Regions from separate parts of the Homo sapiens genome. Here regions 2 and 3 are each linked to region 1. The links are contacts of gene promoters, found by promoter capture Hi-C in blood cells and fetal thymus (Javierre and others, 2016). All regions are on one chromosome and are shown on one strand. The core of a region is centred on a gene start or on the middle of the fragment in contact, and the rest is flanking DNA. Distances in the headings are between cores, read along the strand shown.

Region 1 (3,241 bases), core at 360-2,859:
ACCCGGGAGTGTTGTGTTGTTAAAAAGTATTGTTAAATACTTTTTAAACGTGTTGAATACTTGTTAAATACTTTTTAAATGTGTATTTATTTATTTGAGTTAGTACTACATACACATGGTTCAACATGTAAAAGACATAAAGGGAAATTCAGTGCCATCTCCCTCCCACCTGCTCCTTTCTGCGTGTCCCTGTTCCAGTTCTCAGTTTTCTTTTTCAAACTCAGAAATCCCAAGAGTCTGTGAAGGGCAAATGAAAAGCAAAATGACTAGACTAAATCTGAATGAAAGGGATTTATTCTAAGGTGATACTGCTCACTGCTCAAGGTGCTTATCTGCCCCCTTCATGGGCTCCCTCAAGTTTTCTGAGACTTCAAACAGCAACACTCAACTAAACTATAAAATAGTCACAGCACCTTTTCGAGAAATTTTGACTTTGAACTTGCTAATATGCAAAGGAAATAGTCCAACCATTTCTCTAGAACTTGGTTGATAAGAAATTTTATTTTGTCCCATTTATAATTTTATTCTAAAAATTTGTTTTTTTCTGCTATCGAGTAGGAGAGAAGGGAATAAGGGAAAGATTTGTTTTTGCACTACTGTGAGATTTTTATACCTTAGGCCAGGACAAAGCACACAAGAAATAAAATATTAACAAAATGTCCTTAATTTTCCTTTCTGACCAAAATTGCTTGCCTCTGCATTTATATATAAAGAAGGGATGTGTTGAGCAAATGAAGGAGGACAGCTAGGCAGACAAGATTTGCCCAGCGCCTGGCATACAATAGGGGCACAGGTCATTGCTTAACAAAACGTATAATTTATTAATACATGCTCGAAGCACTGCTATACTAACCAAATATTCCCTGCAAAATTTTAAATTTACAGTGCAAAATAAGAATAATTTAAAAACTGTTTCTAGAAAAAGAGCTTTAAGGGCTTCCCCCCCCATAACAATTTAAGATTAACCTAGAACATGGTAGTTATTTTGCAAGAACTGGGGAGCACCACTCTCTTCTCCTTGTGCATGTCTGACATTGGAGGCCTATTGTGCACGAAGTTGTGATCAAAATCCAAGTCAATTCATTTTGAAAAGTAACATGACTACAACATCCATCCACTCCAATGAGCAAAGGGTGTAGGCTTTGAGTATACACAGCAGGCCACACACTATGGGTCATGGCATACAGTCTAGCGTTGGAGGTTGCTGCATTTGTTCATGTATCTATGAGTTAGGTTTTAAGTTTTTTCCCCCTGTTCTATTAATATAATTAATTAGTTAATTAACCCCACTCATTCATTTACTCAGTCCACAGCCTTTTGTTAAGAGCCCGCCTAGGACATAAAGATGAAGATCCAGTGCCTACCCTCATGAAACATAGAATCCGAGCGAAGAAGGCTTACTTTGCAATAGTCATCCAAGTGGTGCTTTTATGGCGCTTTACTGCTCCCGCCAACACCCAGTGCCTGGGTATGACCTCAGGCGGTGGCAGAGCCCGCGTGCGAGGTCCCGCTCTCCCTGGCTTGCCCCGGCAGGGCGGAGTCAGCCTAGCAGCCGCCGGCGCTGCCCCCGCGCGGCCTTTAATTTTGCAGCTCCGACCACCGGAAATTAGTCGAAGGCTGAGCGGACCCGGTCGAGAGCCGGCGAGCTCCGCGCAGGGAGGGTGCGCCCACCGGTCCCGCCGGGCGCCCGCGGGACGCGCCGCCAGGGCCCTCTCCGCCGGGGGCTCGGCGCTCGCCCACCTCTTCCAAATTTAACCATTACCTAAATCCGAAGGGAAATGAGCAAACCTCTCGGATTGGGTGTCAAGGTATTTTCAGCCTCGTTGGGCGTATTTATCCCCAAGTGTTTCCACAACAAGCTATTTCGGGGCCTGCGGGGCAGGTTTCGCTCTGCGGACGCCGTGGCCACTCGCCGGGCTCCAGGCCGGCGGCACCGCGGGCCGGTGATTCACGGTCCCGACCCGGGGGTGGTGCAGCCCTAGGAGGCGGCGGGGTCGGGGGTGGGGGGGGCGGGTGACCGAGGCCTGAGGGGCGGGGAGGGTCCTCGGAGCGGGGCGCCCCCCACCCCTCTCTCGCCAGTCAATCTGTGTCCTCAATCTGTGGCTTCTCTCGCTGCGGAAGTCTCCCTGGAGCCAAGAATAGTTCATTTTCTTTCAAGTCATTTCTAGTGCCTAAGTGTCCGGACCTCCAATTTCCCCCATCCCCTGCCGACCCACAGGGAGAGAACTGGGAGGACTACTAAGGGGCGCGCGGGACGGGCTGGAAAGGCCAGGCCCCCCACCGCCTGGCCACTTGCGCAAAGGAGCGCGCCCGGCCGCCCGACGGGGGTTGGGAGCAGGTCTGGGAGGGCTATGCGAGCGACTCAGTAACGCTCAGGAAGTGAAGCTTGTGGTTTTGGGGGCTGAGCTCGGAAGGAGAATTTTTTTTTTTTTTAAGTCAGAGAGATAGAGCGGTCTCTCCCGAAAGCAAGATTCCGTTTGAAAACTCTCCTAGCGCGGTGCCCGCGCCGTGACTCCGCAGGTAGGTCCGCCGAGCCTGTTCTGCGCCTCCTGCCCTGGTGGGGGCGGCCGCGGGGACTCGCAGAGCACTGGCACTGCGGGGGCGATCAGAGGGCGCGGGCGGTTTCCCACCTGCTGCGGACCGCCGTGCGGGAGCCCAGAGAGCTCCGGCAGCTGGGTTAGGGCGCGACCCGCGCAGTGTGACTGGAAATCTGGAGCTGGGGGCGCGCAGCAGGCGGTCTGGTGGTTCGGCAGGGGAGCCAAATCCACCAGGGAAGGAAACATCTGGTGGGGAGGCGGCGGCAGCTGCGCTCGGGAGGACGCCCCCTTAGCGCCCTCGGCTCCCTCCTTCCTGGGCCCGGACGGTGAGGAGAGGCCTGAGCGCGCGGAGGGGCCGCCCCACCTCCCGCGCCAGCTGCAGCGCGGGGTTGCCTTCCCACGCGCTCGGCCCAGGCCCCGGGGCCCCTATCTCCTCCAAACTCTGTCGCTCCCCACAGGAACCAGCAAAGCGGGCCGGGGTGCGAGAGAGGCGTGGGCTTACAGCCCGGGTGGGGAGGCGGCCTCCGCGTCCGCCTGGTCTCTGGTGGCGCCAGCCCAGACCCAGCTCCGGCGCTGACAGTTACCCCGCCCCCATCTGTCCCGCTCCCAGCCAACGTGGGTCCAAGCTGCAGCGGGACCCTCGGGACAACGCCACTCCGTTTTTCTTTTCTTCCGAGTTTCGTGGCTGTTTAAAGAATTGGGTT
Region 2 (3,470 bases), core at 85-2,584, 460 kb after region 1:
TGGTGGTGAGTCTTGGAGGATTAAATGTTATGGGCACTGCAATGGATTTAATTAACAGATACTTTATTGCACTGACTATGCATCAGGCATTGTTCTAAGTTTTTCGTGTTTGTTTTTATAAATATTAACCTATTTAATTCTCATGTCGACCCCAGGCAAGAAAGAAGTTCTCTTGCCCTTCTGAACTTCAGCTGCGGGGCAATTTAGCTCCTAACAGGAAATAAGGACTTGGTGACATAAACATCCCCTCTTATGAGGCTGGGTTTGAAAGGCCTGTGAGTCAGACTGCAGGGTGTATCACGGGAACTATTTCCCTTCACCACCTGGAGCCTCAGGAAACAGAATATTTGTGGGCTGTGAGGAAGCTTGAACAATTAGCGTCTGCAGGCATGGCTGGATTTACCTTTTATTCCATTCCTTTCTTTGGTCCCTGACTTCATAAGTATGCATTCCTCCCCACAACACACACAATTTACTTATTGTTTCATGCAACCTAAGTCGTCTGTGATCATAATAAACTCATGACTCCCAAAGACTGACTGTTTACTCTTATTATCTCTAAAATTGGGCAAGAACAGCCTCCTGAGACATTAGGATGCCACGAGGAACAATTCTCTACAGCTGATCTGAGCTCTAAAGGGCAAAAGGGTGACAGGAGACAGCTTCCCCTTGCAGTAGGAAAAAGAGCAGGTTTATTCTGGGTTGTTGTGGCGCCGGGGGGCAGTAATATAAGAGGCCCCTGATTAGAGAAGTTCCACATTCAGAAACCAATCAAGGTGCCTGCAAAGACCGAGTGCTGTTTATCTGTATCTCTCTCTCTCTCTCTCTCTCTCACACACACACACACACACACACACACACGACACACAGGGACCCAACCCCTCCTCCCCTCCTGCCAGGACACTAGGGGACGCTGAGCCAGCGTCTCGGAAGGAGAAGCCCGGAGCCCCCCACCCTCGCGGCGGTCACGCTCCCTCCCGCTCCCGCCAGGCCCGCGCGGCCCTTCACCTTGATCCGCACGTAGCAGTGGGTGCCCAAGGAGGGGTCGCTCAGGCACGCGGGAGGGTGCTCCCGGGCGGGCCGCCGGAAGGTCTGCGCCGGCCCCTTGCCGAGGCTCCACAAAAGTTTGAGCAGGTGGATGGAGGCGCAGAGCCCGCAGTAGCAGTAGACCAGGGACCAGAAGAGCAGGGACCGGAGCGTGAGCATCAGGCGGGGCAGGCAATCCCGCAGCCTCGCCATTGGGAGGCGGCGGCGGGGCCCACTGCCCTTCCTCGGGAGCGGGTGAGCGAGCGCCGCAGCGCGCCAGGCCAGCCCGCCGTCGCCTCTCGACGCGCGCCTCCCCCGGCCCGGGGCGGCCGGCGTTCCGTGTCACCGCGGCGGCTCCGCACACGCGCCGCGCCCAGCCCGGAGCGCGCAGGGGAGAGCCGGGCCTGCGGGGTGCGGCGGGCCAGGCCGGGGTGCAGAGCTTGGCTGTCTTCCGCGGAGAGCGAGATCCCGTTTCAAAATCGCAAAACTGTGGGGGAGGATGAAGGCGAGACTTTCCCAAACCATCCTGGGCACCAAAGAAGGTAGCGCCACTCAGTCTTCTTTGTTGTTCTCAATGTATCAAGCAAAACTATTTCTAAGCCCACATATTCGTGTGTCATAGTTCAGGGACACAGGTCAGCGACAAACTTCCATGCTATTACACCCAAAGAGATTCTTTAGAGTGCAAAATCACTCTGCACTCTGAAAGATACCAGCCTTCCTCTTCTCAAAATCTTTCGTGGAATCATAATTTCTGTAGAAATCCGCCTATGCCTTGCCTGGTTCAGCCACAGCAAACTTACAGAGAGCTGCAACCCCAGGGATACAACGAATGCTTCAACAACGTGACGCGGCAGAAGCCTGGCCAGAAGGCCACACACCTGAGAGTTCGTCGAAGGGCTGGAAGCCGTGAGAGTGACAGTCCTCGGTAGGTATCTCAGCCTCAGCACCGACATGGCCACTCTTGTCCTGACCTCTTCTATCGTCCAGTTCACTGTTAGAATTTCATTAAGCCTTTTCCCAATCACCGGGTCAGGTATTAAGTGTTCATTTTTTATGAGAAACTGTCAAACTGGTTTCCAAAGTGGCTGTACAATTTTGAATTTACTTCAGCATGTGTGAGTTATACAATTGACCTTTGAACAATGCGGGGGGTTAGGGTTGCTGAACCCTTTCACATCTGAAAATCCATGTATAACTTTTGAGTTCCCCCAAACTTAAGTACTAATAGCCTACTACTGACCAAAACAATTAACATATGTTTATGTATTACATACTGTATCTTTATAATTAAGAAAAATGTTAAAATCATAAGGAAGAGAAAATACATTTACTATTCATTAAGTGGAAGTGGATTATCTTAAGAGTGTTCATCCTTGTCATCATCAGGTTAGGTAAGCTGAGGAGGAGAAAGAAGAAGGGAGGTTGATCTTCCTGTCTTGGGGTGAGGGGGAGGGAAGAGGTGGAAGAAAATCCATGTGTAAGTGGACCTACACAGTTCAAACACATGTTGTTTGAGGGTTAACTGTATTTTGCTCTTTTTTTCTAGGGTCTTGAGTTAGGAACTTATTGAGACCTTTGCAATTTCTAATGCAATCATTTAGCACCTATACATTTCTCTCAGTACTCTTTTTATTTTATTTTTTGAGACGGAGTCTCACTCTGTCGCCTAGACTGGAGTGCAATGGCGCGATCTCCATCTCAGCTCACTGCAAGCTCCGCCTCCCGGGTTCACGCCATTTTCCTGCCTCAGCCTCCTGAGTAGCTGGGACTACAGGCGCCCGCCACCATGCCCGGCTAAGTTTTTTGTATTTTTGGTAGAGACGGGGTTTCACCGTGTTAGCCAGGTTAGCTCGTGAACCGCCCGCCTCAGCCTCCCTAAGTGCTGGGATTACAAGTGTGAGCCACCGCGCCTGGCATCTCTCAGTACTCTTTAATCGTATTACATATGTGTTGATATGTTGTATTTTGCCATTTGTTATGTATTTTTTAAAATGTCCTGTTTTAGGTTGGGTGCTGTGGCTTACGCCTATAATCCCAGCACTTTGGGAGGCTGAGGCAGGAGGATCGCTTGAGCTCAGCAATTCAAGACCAGCGTGGGCAACATGGCAAAACCCTGTCTCTACAAAAAATAGAGAAATTAGCCAGGTGTGGTGGTGCACGCCTGTAGTCCCAGCTACTTGGGAGGCTGAAGTGGCAGGATCGCCTTAGCCCTGGAAGGTTGAGGCTGCAGTGAGCCAAAATCATGCCACTGCACTCTAGCCTGGGTTAAAGAGTGAGATTATGTTTCAAAAAATGAAAAACAAAACAAAACAAAACAAAAAACAGGGCCGGGGGTGGTGGCTCACATCTGTAATCCCAGCACTTTGGGAGGCTGAGCTGGTCAGATCACCTGAGGTCAGGAGTTTTGGACCAGCCTGGCCAACATGTTGAAACCCCATCTC
Region 3 (3,439 bases), core at 622-3,121, 490 kb after region 1:
AAAAAACAGAGAGGCTTAAGGATGCAATTCAGAGAATTATCAACATCTAAAGGGAGGCAAATAAAGAGATATCTGTAAGGAACAGACAGATGGGATTGTTAAGAGAGGTGTCATAAAAGCCTAGGAAGTATGTCAAGGGTCCAACTCTCTGAAAAATATTTTTACATGAATGACCCTGTGATACCTCAAAAGACTACAAAACTCATCTTTCCTCAGAAGCCTATTCTTCATCTTGTGTCCCGGGTCTGTCAACCTGGACAGTATCCAGCCAGTATCCTGTGAGCCACCGAAGCTTATATCCCTGGGTTATTAACCCAGCATGTTTTCATATTTTGCAGACCTGCCCATTCTACTCTTGCAATTTCTTTTAACTTTCCCCTTCTCTTTCCTTCTATCACTTTATGTCATTTTTTCCCTACTACTGCAACAGCCCAGCTGGTCTCCTTCCCTTCTCTGGTCTCTATATTCTCCTTTCCTTCAACTCACCTAAATAATATTGGCAAATTAATCACTCAGAGGCACACCTTCACTCAAAAAAACCTTCATTGCCTCCCCACTGACTATGCTATTATAATTAAGTCCAAAGTATCTAAAGGGTTAAATGATCTAAACCTGGTCTACCTTTGTAATTTTCCACATTCCTGTTTAATCCAACCAAATCTTTAATCACATGGAATTATGAGTTGCCTAAATACCTTCACATTCATGTTGCTTCCTCCATCCAAATGCCTTTCCATACTAAATAAACATAGGTAAGCCTTATTTTTTTTCTGCACTATCCAGCTCAAATGATACTCATTCTGTAAAATATGTATCTGCCAAACACATCAGGTGATTCTGCCTTCTTCACCTCCTTAAACTTCACTTTAGGTTCTTTCAGGGCACATTATTTTTACTTTATATACCAGTTGTTTATTTCTCCTATGAGATAGCAAACTCCTGGATTTACTTTTTCATTTGCAATTATGAATTCATGTTTATATAACAGCCTAAATATTTTAAAAACTCAATATAATTTGGTGAAGTTTAAAAAAATTTTTTTATTATACTTTAAGTTCTGGGATACATGCGCAGAATGTGCAGGTTTGTTACACGTGCCATAGTGGTTTGCTGTACCCATCAACCTGTCATCTACATTAGGTATTTTTCCTAATGCTACCCCTCTGCTAGCCCCCCATCCCCCAACAGGCCCCAGTGTGTGATGTTCCCCTCCCTGTGTCCATGTGCTCTCAGTGTTCAACTCCCACTTATGAGTGAGAACATGCAGTGTTTGGTTTTCTGTTCTTGTATTAGTTTGCTGAGGATGATGGTTTCCAGCTTCATCCATGTCCCTGCAAAGGACATGAACTCATCCCTTTTCATGGCGGCAATTTAGTGAAGTTTTTATGAGAAGGGGAAAGGGTAAACTATAAGGATAAGGGTATGGCTAAAAGCTTCAACTTATAAGGAAAAAAAATTCAACATTGTCCATTTCATGTGGAGATCATATGTGGGCAGGTGTGATGAAAACCAGTAACACTTAAAAATTCATTTTTTAATCTTTTATGTACTCTAACATTTTGTCAAACTATTTTTCCAATAAGAAAACTTCAACATATTGCTTTTATCATTTAATTGTAAGGTTTAACAAAAAATTTATTTCTATTGAGATTTAACTCCAGAAAAAGAAAATGTCTCTATAAATTTTATGGCTCACATACATTTGCAATTTCCCTTGGGCATAGTGCCACCTACAGTTGGCAAATGTAAACCATGTTGTTTCTGAGAATCTTGCTAACTGCAAAAGAACAGCTACTCTGGCATCATCCAAACTTTCCTTTATATATTAGCTTACTAATAGGCATCATATAAACAGAATTTCAAGTAATATAATAAACTGATCCTTACTGAAGGTGTAGGTATTAAAAGCCTGACTTTTCATAGATAGGGTGTTTTCTTAAATTAGGAATAAGAGAACACCTTGACTACATTCTCACCTTTGTTTTTCATAATCTATTCCTTTTCAAGGGCAAGGCTACCCTAGCATTCTTATAAAACATACTCTAGTTAAAAGAGTAACTTTTTCCTACTTTAGCTCTTTATAATGAGCCTTCAAATGTTCAAATCCCTCCAATTAAAAAACTCAAAATAATCTTGCCCACTCCTCCAAAAAATCTATTTTCCTGTTAAAGCCACAAATATCTTTCCATCCTCTTTACCAACAAAGTTCTTCAAAGAATGCTTTACATTCACTACACTCAAATTCCATTACTTCTCAATTTACAACAATCTGGTTTCTGCCCCATCACAACAGGTACTAAAAAAGCTTCCGCAAAAGTAAAAATTCTCACATTCCCAATGTAATGCTCTCTCTCCATTCCTCATCCTACTTAAATGCTCTGCAGTATGTGATACTTTTGATTTCCTTCTAAAAAAAAAATCTATCTTCCTGGGCTTTTATTACACTATTTTTTCTTTTTCTCTACCATTGATTACCTCTTCTTTTAACTATTTTTTTCTACTTTTACTGAGGAGGTTTTGTTTCTTAGAATTTTGTCTTTAAGCTTTTCTCTTCCTGCTCTGCAGATTTTCCTGGGTGTTTTCATTTATTCTTATGGCTTCAAGTAGCTTCTACATACTGTTAATTCCTAATTTCTAATTCCTGTTACACCCTGTTAGTTCTAGAAACCTATTTCTAGCTTTATATTTCCACTTAGATATTCTGTAACATCTCAAACATGTGCCAAATGAGTTCTGTCCCCTGTTTTCAATCCAACTATTAGATAATCTCCCAGTAGCTCATTCATCCTAACGAAGTATATCAATTCTGCCACAAAAATACCTTATATATCCACATGCTTTCTACAGTTGCTGTGTTAGTTTTGGTCCTAATAATTTATTTCCTAGACTACAGCATTCAGTGTCCTTACTTAATCCTAACTACATCAGAGCATCATCTTAATCCATCCTCTACATGGTAAGCAGCAATTTTTTCCCTATTATAAAACCTGGGGCTGGGTGTGGTGGCTCACGCCTGTAATCCCAGAACTTTGGGAGGCCAAGGTGGGTGGATCACTTGAGTCCAGGAGTTCAAGACCAGCCTGGCCAACATGGTGAAATCGTCTCTACAAAAAGTACAAAAATTAGCCGCATATGGTGGTGCATGCCTGTAATCCCAACTACTTGGGTGGCTGAGGCATGAGAATTGCTTGAACCCGGGAGGCAGAGGTTGCGGTGAGCAGAGGTTGTGCTACTACACTCCAGCCTGGGCAACAGGGCGAGACTCTGTGTCAAAAAAATAAATAAATAAAATAAAATTGAATAAAATCTGATTATGCTTCCTATACAAAGCTCCTTGTTGTACACAAAGTATACAAATTTGTATATAATTTGTTGTATACAAATTAATGGCACTGGTATTCTAGGTAACTCATGACCTATAGCTATCATATCTTCTGTT

Evidence for each region. The method cuts DNA at HindIII sites, captures the fragments that hold promoters and counts their contacts. A CHiCAGO score of 5 or more calls a contact.
Region 2: the fragment with the promoter of EPHX4 here is called in contact with the fragment with the promoter of GFI1 in region 1 in 1 of 17 cell types (fetal thymus); the score reaches 6.7 in fetal thymus.
Region 3: a contact is called between a fragment that was not itself captured here and the fragment with the promoter of GFI1 in region 1, in 2 of 17 cell types (fetal thymus and megakaryocytes). The highest score is 8.5, in fetal thymus.

Annotation. Positions count from the first base shown.
Region 1 is chr1:92,485,293-92,488,533 of GRCh38, reverse strand. GFI1 (growth factor independent 1 transcriptional repressor) reads left to right here and starts at 1,609. Exons shown (of 7, transcript NM_005263.5): 1 at 1,609-1,808. RefSeq lists enhancers at 1,403-1,452, 2,353-2,502, 2,425-3,025 and silencers at 1,573-1,782, 1,873-1,982, 2,603-2,652, 2,853-3,032. The HindIII fragment of the contact is 3,142 bases long and covers 1-2,387 here.
Region 2 is chr1:92,027,849-92,031,318 of GRCh38, reverse strand. EPHX4 (epoxide hydrolase 4) reads right to left here and starts at 1,334. Exons shown (of 7, transcript NM_173567.5): 1 at 1,009-1,334. The coding sequence starts at 1,239. It overlaps LOC124904218 (a long non-coding RNA gene), which reads left to right and starts at 932. Exons shown (of 2, transcript XR_007066222.1): 1 at 932-1,954. RefSeq lists an enhancer at 1,134-1,635. The HindIII fragment of the contact is 12,008 bases long and covers 368-3,470 here.
Region 3 is chr1:91,996,099-91,999,537 of GRCh38, reverse strand. All of the region lies in intron 15 of BRDT (bromodomain testis associated), which reads right to left. Among named protein-coding and RNA genes, the nearest start is that of EPHX4, 32 kb to the left of the region's middle. The HindIII fragment of the contact is 872 bases long and covers 1,436-2,307 here.